3 separate regions of the Homo sapiens genome follow, and all the other regions are linked to region 2. The links are contacts of gene promoters, found by promoter capture Hi-C in human tissues and cell types (Jung and others, 2019). All regions are on one chromosome and are shown on one strand. Each heading gives the region's core, a stretch centred on a gene start or on the middle of the fragment in contact. The rest is flanking DNA. Distances are from core to core; before and after follow the strand shown.

Region 1 (3,469 bases), core at 459-2,958, 190 kb before region 2:
CTAAAATACAAAAATTAGCCGGGTGTGGTGGCAGGCGCCTGTAATCCCAGCTACTCAGGAGGGTGAGGCAGGAGAATCACTTGAACCCAGAAGGCGGAGGTTGCAGTGAGCCAAGATCGCACCACTGCACTCCAGCCTGGGTGATATAGCGAGATTCCATCTCAAAAAAACAAAAAAAAAATTCAGAAAAGGTCAGGGATGCTATTCCTTTACCTGTATTCCAAATAGGATTCACAGATAGAAAGAAATGAAATCAAGTGTACATGGCAAAAAATTGTGCCTGTAAGATTCATTTTTTAAAATTAAATGGGATGGAGGTTACATGAGTACATACATATGTCAATACTAATTGAACCATTCTCCTAAAATGGGTGCATTTGATTATATGAAAATCTTAAAACAAAAAAGTGCACCTTAAAGTTCTACTGTATTTGCTACTGTATCCAAGAAGACTCTCCCCCAAAAAACATAATTTAGAATTGCCTTCACAGAGATGGTTAAGTTACAAAGCATATCATTATATATGTAATAATACCATATCATTATGAACCATATTATATATGTCAAAGAATCTTCCAATCAGTATCTTCTATGCTTCAATTTTTCCATTTTAAAATATGCATCCTAAATGTAATTACAAAGCACCACAACTGAATTTTGTACTTGAAAACCTATAGATATGAGTGAAACAATAAAGTATAAATAACAACTTTCACTGACAATCCCTTTTTCAGTTAAAAATGACTAAGAATAACTTGTTTTTATAAGTTTTATTAACCAAATTTGAGGGAGAGGCACTTTCTAAAAATGGGCAATTTACACAGAAATGGAAAAGTTGTGAGGAGCTTTTTATGAGTCCCATTCATCTGGAAGCCTCAGTCAGACTTACATCAGAAGAAAAACTCTTTTATAAGAGAAACTCATGTCCCTTGTTAATTACTCTTTATTTCTAATGTACAGTAACACTGAAATACATTTTTAAAAATAATTAACATATAAAGTTAGGAATATATACAACTACTACTACATTTATTATCTAAGGATCCTACTAGGCTATTGTAGTTCCAGAAAAAAAAACTAGTAACTTTATTCATTACGTTCACACTGATGTTTCTGTTGACAGCTCCAGTCATTTGTCAGAGCTAAAATTTTCCACCTTTATTAGCTATTAATAATTGTCAATGATTGAAAATTTTATATTAGAATTTTACAATCTCAACTTATAGCAGCGATCTGAACCAAAGTCAGTATTCTCAAAAACTGGTAACTATCATTAAAGCATTAGATCTTACTGAAATTAACAAATGGTTACTCTTTAAAAAACAGAATTATCAAGGGAGACTCATAATTCAGTTTTCATTCTTTCTTGTAAGCACATACATATTACACATAACAAATTTTGGTTAGTTACTGTTATTGATATTAAGACATGGTTTATACAAATAGTGTGAAATACAACTATTTCATAGCTTCAGTAAGCCCTGTGCCTGTCTATGACCTGTCAATCTATAAAAACATTAACATGAGAGAATAGAGATGAAAGTGATTTTGCTAAAGTTATCTGTTATCCCCAAGCTGTTCAAAGTTGATTCGGTTTTTCTGGCTGAGTAATTTGATATAATCTTTCATCCTTCCAAAGTTGGAAGGGACTATATGAGTTTCTGCTAGAAGTTTGAGACATTTAAGTCACAAAACTGCAAAGTATGTTATCTCACTTATAAGCAGTAAAGATCTCTGTTTAAACTAATTAATTAGTGAAATACCAACTTTGACTATAATTAATAGACATGCTAATATAGTTTTAATAGATTTTTCTTTGTTATGTGACTATCAGCTAAATATAATCTTTAAGCCACATTACGAATATATATGTGCATGTAAACACAGTCATATATATATCCCAGAAATGGAAAATTGTCCAAATCTACCTGTATCCATTCAGTAAATACTTGTTAAGAACCTATTATATACCATTTAGGACCACTCAAAATCATTACTTTTTACATAAGATTTACAATAGACTAAAGAAAGTATTTCTTGATCAAATGCAAGAGTTTTTACGCCATTACAAATCATCCAAGATAACCAAAACCTGCATCTACTGTATTGTTTATTTCATTATTATTTCATTACATATGCATATTGCATTACTGACTTTTAAATTTCATATACTGGCAATTCACAGAGACTTTCAGGACCAGTAAAGTTAACTTGGATAGACCCAAGACAAGTTTTCCAAATAAGTCACATTTCTTCATATGGGTCCTAGTAAACATTTGCAAATACATAATCCTTCTGAGTTAAAGTTGACACCTGACTTTAGAATGTCCCATGTACTCAAGATACCTAACCTTGTAAATTGCCTCCCCTCAGCACCATTCCTACTCATTCAAGGCAGCAACCAAGTTATACCATGGTCTTTTCTTGTTCTCTTCAGAGTTAGACCTATTCTATCTTACTTTTGCTTTGTTCACATCTCACAATTCAGTCAATTCTTTTCAGGCCATCTCTTTCTCATAAGGAAAAACGTGTGCCCCTAAGCCTCTTTCCTTTATTGGATATCTTGGAAAATAACCCATTTCAATTTTTGTGAACCAAAGAAACAGTTTAGTCCTCATGCAATAACTATTATCAGGTACCTACTATGTGCCACACACTGGGCTAGACCCTTAGGAATGGCTAAGTACAAACTCAATGGCCAGAAATATTCTTGTAGCAAGAAAAAGAGAAATCACTGATTTCAATGTCAGATTAGATCTCAAAAACAGTGCAATCAACCTTGAAAGCTCATGAAAGCACCCAGAAAACCCATAAGCATCCTTCCAAATACCTATCCACCTATTAAACTTGCTTTTCTTTAAGCATTCATATTTAGAATAAAAATAATATCTTATCCAACATAATTATTTTATATTTAGTTTCGTCATTGGAATTGACTTTCTTATATTTTTCAAGGTAGCAATGGTTTTTCTACAGCATGGGTAAAATACATGCTTAGACTATAATAAACGCCCAACAGTCACTTGATAAACTGTTTCCCAGGGAAAATGGGTTCTAAATTTCCAACAACCCATTCACAAGTAAACTTCTCAAATACAAAGTGTTTGTAAATTGGGAATGCATTATTCTTTATTTCTATATTTACATTCCTATGGGCCTGGGAAATGGTACCATCACTAAGGTAACACAGTGAATGATTAGTTTAAAATAAAAAATTATTCTGAAGAGTGTGAAGCTGTATGCAAATAATTTTCCACCAGTCTAAGAAGGACTGAGCATGGGAAAATCTATAAAGAAGTAAAAGTAAGTTTGTGATATTATCTCTATGATGTTTACTTTTAAGTGCAAGATACTAACTAGCCCAGAAAAGGTTCCCACAGACCAGTTGAGCTGCTTCTTATACATAGGTCAACAGTCTAAAAAAAAAATTAAAACCTGCAAAATCCCACAAAACAAAACCTGTTTTACA
Region 2 (3,629 bases), core at 484-2,983:
ATGTAAGCCACTGCGCCTGGCCAATATGTAACATTTTTAACTTTTTGTAAAACCAGAGAATATTTTGAAATGTGTCCGAATGCCCTGCCTAGATTCTAGACTCTGTGAGGCCCCAGCCTCCTTTCCTATGCATGACTTACTGTTTAATGTAGTACACACAGAAGGGATATCATCATCATAATAAAGGTCCTCACTTTCCTTCACAGTTTCATCTACCCCACAATGACTCCCAGGAAAAGGAGGGTACTGTTTCAGACTTCCCAGCTCCCGTATATTAGGTGGAGCCAAGTTCTTGCTGCAGCATACGGGCACGCTTTAAAATTTTCAAATCATTTTTTAAAAGCTACAAGCTTGACAGCTTTGGGTTTTTATGGCTACTTGTTTTCTGAAGTTCACAGAACTTTATCATTTGGATCACACACTTAAAAAAATCACTTGCAAAAATCTCTTTAAAGATGAATATGCTTCCTCTTCAAGAGAAACAGACTAGCGGGTAGAAGAAAAAGGACCCGTCTAGAGTATTAATAAATAGACTGATATTCACACAATGGATTAAATGGATTAAAGTCCATCCCACAGATGAACTGTTATATTAATAGAATCCAAATATACAGTTACATCCTCGACCCTGAAAGCAGTTTAAACGGGTGAAATTCACCCAGTGCTCACTTGAAATGAGTACTCTAAAGTTTAAAGCACCTATAAACTGCCCTCAGGATTCAATCATTTTTCCATTCCTTCCGGCATTATATACTTTGATGTTTTAATGTTATTAGCCCACAATACACACCAGTTTCAGAAACTCAGTTTTTGTCCTCTAAGGGCTTTTAGTCCTCCCAAAAAAAGAATAGGGCAAAAGCAAGGAAGATCATGAATCTGGTTTTCTAAAAGCATTATTACAAGACTGCTTTATAAAATTGTAATCCCCAGCTGCAGAGTTCCGCAGATGGCTTGAAAGTGTCTTACATGCAAATAAATAAAAACAAAAGGCCACTTATGCGAGCAGAACACAGCGTGCTCGATAGTCATCTTAAACCGAGCAGGTAGGTACTTTATCAGAGGCAGACAAGGGAAACGTCACTTATTTAGAGTTCACCGCACGCCTGGATAAAAGTCCTCACTAACAAAATCCCTGCCTTTGTGGATTCTGTGTCGGAAAGGGAAACGATAAAGAATACGGTTTGTGACAGCACTACTCTCAGGAGACGAAGGAGAGATGCTAAGATCTTGGAAAGGAGAGAGAATAGGAAGAGTCGGAGGGGAGATCTCCTCTCAGTAAAACGGCACCCACAGCAGTCAGACTTCAGCTACGAGCAAAATCGAGTCCGTGCACCTCAAAAAAGAGAGGGAGGCAGGGAAAACTTTCCCTCGCCTCTCCCCATCCTTCCCTCCTCCTCGCAGGAGAGCACATTAGCTGAGGTGCTGGCGGGGCCGGGCCGGGGACCCCATCCCTCGCCCCGGACGCAGCGCCCGCAGGGACTGCCCGGGAGCCCGAGCGAGGGAGGCGGGAGGTACAGGAGTAACGGGGCACTCCCGGCCCGGCCTGCGGGGAAGGGAAGCAGGGGCAGGGCCGAGGGGGAAGAGGCCTCCGCGAGCTCGACCCCGCGCCCACACGCTACCTGCGAGGTCAGCTGCTGCCGCGCCGTCCCGCGGGACCGCAGGGATCTCCGAAGCTCCAATGGGCGCAGAAGTGCGAGCGAGCGGCGGTGCCCACCGGCAGCGAAGAGGAGGAGCGCCAGGGCGCCGGGCCCGCCGGGTCACGTGGCCCCGGCCGCCTCACGTGACCCGGTGCAGCGCGCGCCCGGGACGCTACCCAGCCGAGCATCCCGCACCGCCCCGGCCCCGGCCCCGGCCGAAACCCTGCTCTTCGGGCCCTACAACCCGACTTCTTTAGAAGCCGATTGGCCGTCTCAGGCCCGCCCCGAGGCCCTGCCACTGGAGTGTCCCCATGAAATCCGGTGGCTGCTGCCGGGACTTAGAGGCTTTTGTGTCTGAGGAACCAGGAACGCGCGAGGCACGGGCTCCTGCTCTGCTCCCCGAGATGGCTTGGCTGTGGGGAGGGTCGGCCTACCACCCCAGAGACCTAGGACGGAAAAGCGACCGAGAAACTTGGCTCCCTGCCCACTCTAGAGCGCGTCTGGCCCCGGGGCACCACCCAGGTGGTGCTGCCTGGGAGGAAAGGCGGCGGAGCTGGGACTAGTTTGTTTTTACTGGAGACGCGCCTCCCTCCCTCCCCGCCCCTCACTTCCTGATTGAAAGTACCTGAGGCAGGCCAGGGACTAGGGAAGGTGGCAGCTGGACAAAGGTATGAAGGAAGGACGAGATGAGGCACAGGTCCTGGTATTGGAAAGAGGCAGAGGTACCTCGGAAGCATGCCATAGAGGTTAGACGGGACCTAAGAGGGCATCTGGTCCAACCGGATTCGTGTTACCAGCGAGTAAACTGAGGCCAGGAGAGGGACTGCTACGAGCTGCTCCAGCCTATCACCTATAAAGACTACAGTCCCTTTGTAAAATACCATACAGCTCTCGGAGAACTCCCAGTTGGCGCTGCAGGATAAAATCCAAACTTGTTGGCATAGCATTCCAGCCACTTGTTCACTTACCTTTCCCATTTGAGCTCCTAGGAATAAACAGAAAAACATTTCATTTTCTAAATATCACCAGATAACTTCACTTTTGGTAACTTGAATTATTAAAAAAGTCCTACCGTCCCTCATCTCTTGCCACTTCCCCAACATTACTGGAGGCTCTGGCTACAAATAATTTGTTTTCCTTGACTACTCAACTTTCTTTGGATTATTTACTTTTTCTCTAAGTTTCTTTACTCCTTTTTGCTTTGTTCATTCTTTTGTCTGTATCTGAAATGTCCTGAATCACCACCTCCCCCACTTAAAGAAAACCAGGGCCAATGATTAAAAAAAAAAAAAAAGGTATTAAGAAACTAATGCAATAAGAGAATTGAGCTTAGTTCTGTATCTATTCTGAGGTCTCGCTCCTGTTGCACTAGTTCCTGAATAAAATGTTTTTACCACTTCAACTACTGTTTGGCTCTGGTTTTCTTCAACAGCCTCCAAAGTACACATCAGTTTCCTACTCATCTTTCAAAATCCAGGTCAAATGCCGCCTACTCTTGTCTTCCCAGCATCCTCTTCCCTGATTTTTTAGCAATTGAAGTTCATCCAGACAGTGTCAGCTGCAACTTCTTCCCTGATTTCCAGAATACTATATATATTCTGATACACCTCACACTGCCCAGAAATAGACTGCGCATTTCCTGTAAAAGGTGAATTGTCTATTGCTGTCTTCTCCCTTAGATTATAAACTCTTTGAAACAGGATTCTTCTGGGTTTAGAACAGCGCCTGGCATGTGATAGACCCTTAATACTCACTGAATGAAGTGGCTTGCCCAAAGTAGTGGCAGTTGAGTGAATTTACTAGAAGAGGCCTGTTTTGCTCAAAGAAACTAAAATCAGTTTCTTTTGGTTGCAACCCGATCAAAAGAACTTGTGTAAACATGTCTGAGAGAAAAACGAGGGCATGGGGTGTGAGCAATCAAATATGTCCTGAGCCCTCACTGCTTATGTGTCAGATGCCATACTTGGAGCATCTTGGAGGATTAAAAGCTGA
Region 3 (3,421 bases), core at 467-2,966, 230 kb before region 2:
TTGACCCTGGAAAGTTAAGCGAGACTCTGTCTCCAAAAATAAAAATAAAATAAAATAAAATCTGACCATATTTTTAAAGAGATATCATTGACCATTTCAACTGAATACTAGTTTTTATGGAACTTTTATGATACTATAAAACTTTAAGATATTTTATTACTCATCAACTACTAGTAACAACATTTGTTGAACAATAAGTAATGTACTACTCTTTATAAGATTATAGAATTTTCATGAAAGACAGATTCAAGAATAAAGATTCAATTGAGGAAATAGACTACTTTCCAATATCAAATTTACAAATATTAGTAGAAGAAACAGCAAACAAAGATACCAGGGTGGTATTTATTCATTTTTGTCCTGTTTATGCAGAATGATATTCACAAATATTGAGTATTCCCTGAATAACTCATAGTAACATTAAATGCTGATACATTCAGATAGTCATGATTCTTTGTAGAATATAAGGAATGCCAATTTATAGTGCTAGCAATTTCTCTTATTAGAAAAACCTGAAACTCAGCCTATTGGCTCACAAGGAACAGTTGTCAGGTGGGGTTTTATTAAAGATGTTGTAAAGAGGGGTATATGTTCTGAAATGTAAAGGAGAAAAGCACTGTCATTTATTGATAGAGTACTCAAGAGAGTATAAAATAAAGGCTGTTGGCCTAGAGAAAGAATCTAAGGGAAGGACAATTAAAATCCAGACTTATTGATCAGCAAGATATATGTGGATTTTTGTAATTTGGCCCTAACCTTAACTTTTCAGTTTCATCTCCCATCACATTCGTTATTTCCCTGGAGCCCCTCATTCCCTCAATTGGAATGCCCTTCTTACATTCCCACAACTCAGATGCTTCTCATCTCTCAAGGCTTAGTTCAAATGCCATCTCCTCCTTGAAGCCTTTCCTAATCACTACAATTCAGGATTATTCTTTCTGCCCTTCACACTCAAATAACAGCTTGTCTGTAATTTCTCTTTAACACTTTTTTCATTCTGTATTATGTTATACTGCAGTAAATTGCTATAGGTCTATTTTCTTCATTACAATCAATTTAATTGTTGGGGATATGTTTTACTTATCCTGTTACCTTCTCCTCTCCTCCCCTATCCCCATCTCCATTTGGTGTCTATGTCATTTATTGCTACTTTCTCCTGTCCCTACCCCAGTCTCCGAAGAGTGCCTATTATAATGTTTTTCACGAAGCATGCATATAATGAATTTAATGAACCTCAAACTGAAGAAATGTCTTAATACTAGAGTACTCTAATGAGAGTCAAACTCTGACGTATACAAAATATGCATCATCTCTGGCCAACATTTTCTCATTTCTTAATTCAATTTCCAAACTAAGACCATCTATAAAAAGTTTCCACTCTAACTTTTGGGTATAATTAGTTCTCTTTTTCCTTTCATTTCGTGAAGCTTATTGAAACCATCTGTGATGCACTGACAGTTTATTCTTGAGAATCAAAAGAATGTTTTTAAAAAACCAAGACTCCTCTGGGTCAGCACACTTGTCATTTCATCCCAGCAGTTTGACATCTGTCATTCTGAGATTACAACTTCTTAAATTCAGAAATACATAGGGATATACAGAGATATATAGGGAATTCTAATTCTCCTCAGTACTCTTTAAGTGATTTATAATTCACATAGATCATTTCTACCTGACTACCCTCTAGTATATTGACTTTTGATAGGTTATTGCTTACTATTTAAAGAAGTGCTCCAAAAGATAAGCTTAGGTTAAGTTTCAAATCCCACTAACATTAATATCCTTAGGTCTGTTAAAGAATCAATATGTATCCCACCTAATCTATTCTACTCATAGATAAGCTTCCTGATGGCAAGGATCCTGCCTAATTACTGCATTTTCCACAATGGCTAACCCATGGCAGGTCCCCAGTAAAGGTTAATCTGATGAATGCTGAATCACTATTTTATAGAACTGAATCTTATCTTCCCTCTTGATTTGTAATTTAGATCATATAGTCTGGACTATAATGAACTGTGTCAGTGTGGAGAAGGCACTATCTAGGCATGCCCATCAAATAATGACAGCATAATGAAAAGTCTCTCTCAAATTTAATGAAAGCCAAAATGTAAGAGCAATGGTCTCAGCTGGCAGTGAGCTACAGTAATCATTACACAGAAAATGGTCAGAAGAATGATCTTGTGCAAGAATATTTCAATTTAAGAACAAAGATTACATTATGTAAGGGGGAAAATGACTTTTGTGATTATTGCTGGAAGTAAACAAGGCCAGGAAATACCTGGAAAGCTTTTGTAAAATGCCATTCAACAAACACTTGGCCTCCTCAATATAGTCAAGAACGTATGTTTCTAATCTAGAAACATTTGCTGACTAAAAATAATGAGTTAGGCCAGGCATAGTGGCTCATGCATATAATCCCAGCACTTTGGGAGGCCAAGGCAGGAGGATTGCTTGAGCCCAGGAGTTTGAAACCAGCCTGGGCAACATAGTGGGACCCTGTTTCTACAAAAAAAAAAAAAAAATTAATTAGCTAAGTGTGGTGGCATGCACTTGTAGTCCCGGCTATTTGGGAGGCTGAGTCAGGAGGATCACTTGAGCCTAGGAGGTTGAGACTATAGTGAGCTGTGATCACAGCACTACCTTCTAGTATGGGCAACAAAGCAAGACCCTGTCTCGATAAATAAATAAAATAATGAGTTAGTTCTGTCCACCAAAAAGGCCTAGAAGCAATAACAATCCAATGTCAATGAGCACCCCTAGCAACCAGATTGTAGTCTCTAAGAACCATTTCTCTCTAAAAAGAACCAACATCCTTGGTAGAAATTTCAGGTCTTTGTCAGCAAATGTACAAGTTGGGTGGCATATCTCGTTACACCAGAAAGCAAAGAAGCTCTCAGAAACTATTTTAGTGATGTTAAGAGATATCACCTAGAAGGGGCCACAGATGGCCAATTGAGCATTAAAAAAACATGTGTAGAACTAAATAAGACATATAGAAAACATTAAATCCATTAGTTCATCAGATACTAGAAGAGTGTGTGTCTCTGTACATATATAAATATATATATATATTTATACACACACACATATATAAAGGCAGGGGGAGGGAGGGAAATAACTCATTAGACACCGATGAAAGTTCCTAGGATATCTTATTTTTCTCTAAAATGATAATTAAAAGAAAAGAATTGAGCATTTATTCTGCCTCTCTGGTATGAATTATACTTCAGAGTATTCTAACACCTGAAGCTGTGGTGGGTGAATGACAGTATTCTCTATAAAACTACTTTAGCCAATAAAAAATACAAAAGGAATGACAGAATTCAAAATTACCTTTTTGTCACCTCTAGCAAAATGACGGAATCAGGCAATGTTCATCAATGGATGGTAAAACAATTAAGTTTAAGGTTGATGGGAAACT

What was found. Contacts are between HindIII fragments. The study calls those that stand out against the background at their distance.
Region 1: a contact is called between a fragment that was not itself captured here and the fragment with the promoter of RCBTB1 in region 2, in 2 of the 25 tissues and cell types used here (dorsolateral prefrontal cortex and hippocampus).
Region 3: a fragment that was not itself captured here is called in contact with the fragment with the promoter of RCBTB1 in region 2 in 2 of the 25 tissues and cell types used here (adrenal gland and small bowel).

The regions. Positions count from the first base shown.
Region 1 is chr13:49,396,545-49,400,013 of GRCh38, forward strand. The region is part of intron 3 of CAB39L (calcium binding protein 39 like); the gene reads right to left. Among named protein-coding and RNA genes, the nearest start is that of CAB39L, 46 kb to the right of the region's middle. The HindIII fragment of the contact is 6,659 bases long and covers 1-3,469 here.
Region 2 is chr13:49,583,825-49,587,453 of GRCh38, forward strand. It overlaps RCBTB1 (RCC1 and BTB domain containing protein 1), which reads right to left and starts at 1,734. Exons shown (of 13, transcript NM_018191.4): 1 at 1,620-1,734. RefSeq lists a silencer at 1,258-1,967. The HindIII fragment of the contact is 9,086 bases long and covers 1-3,629 here.
Region 3 is chr13:49,352,707-49,356,127 of GRCh38, forward strand. All of the region lies in intron 6 of CAB39L (calcium binding protein 39 like), which reads right to left. Among named protein-coding and RNA genes, the nearest start is that of CAB39L, 90 kb to the right of the region's middle. The HindIII fragment of the contact is 4,293 bases long and covers 1-3,421 here.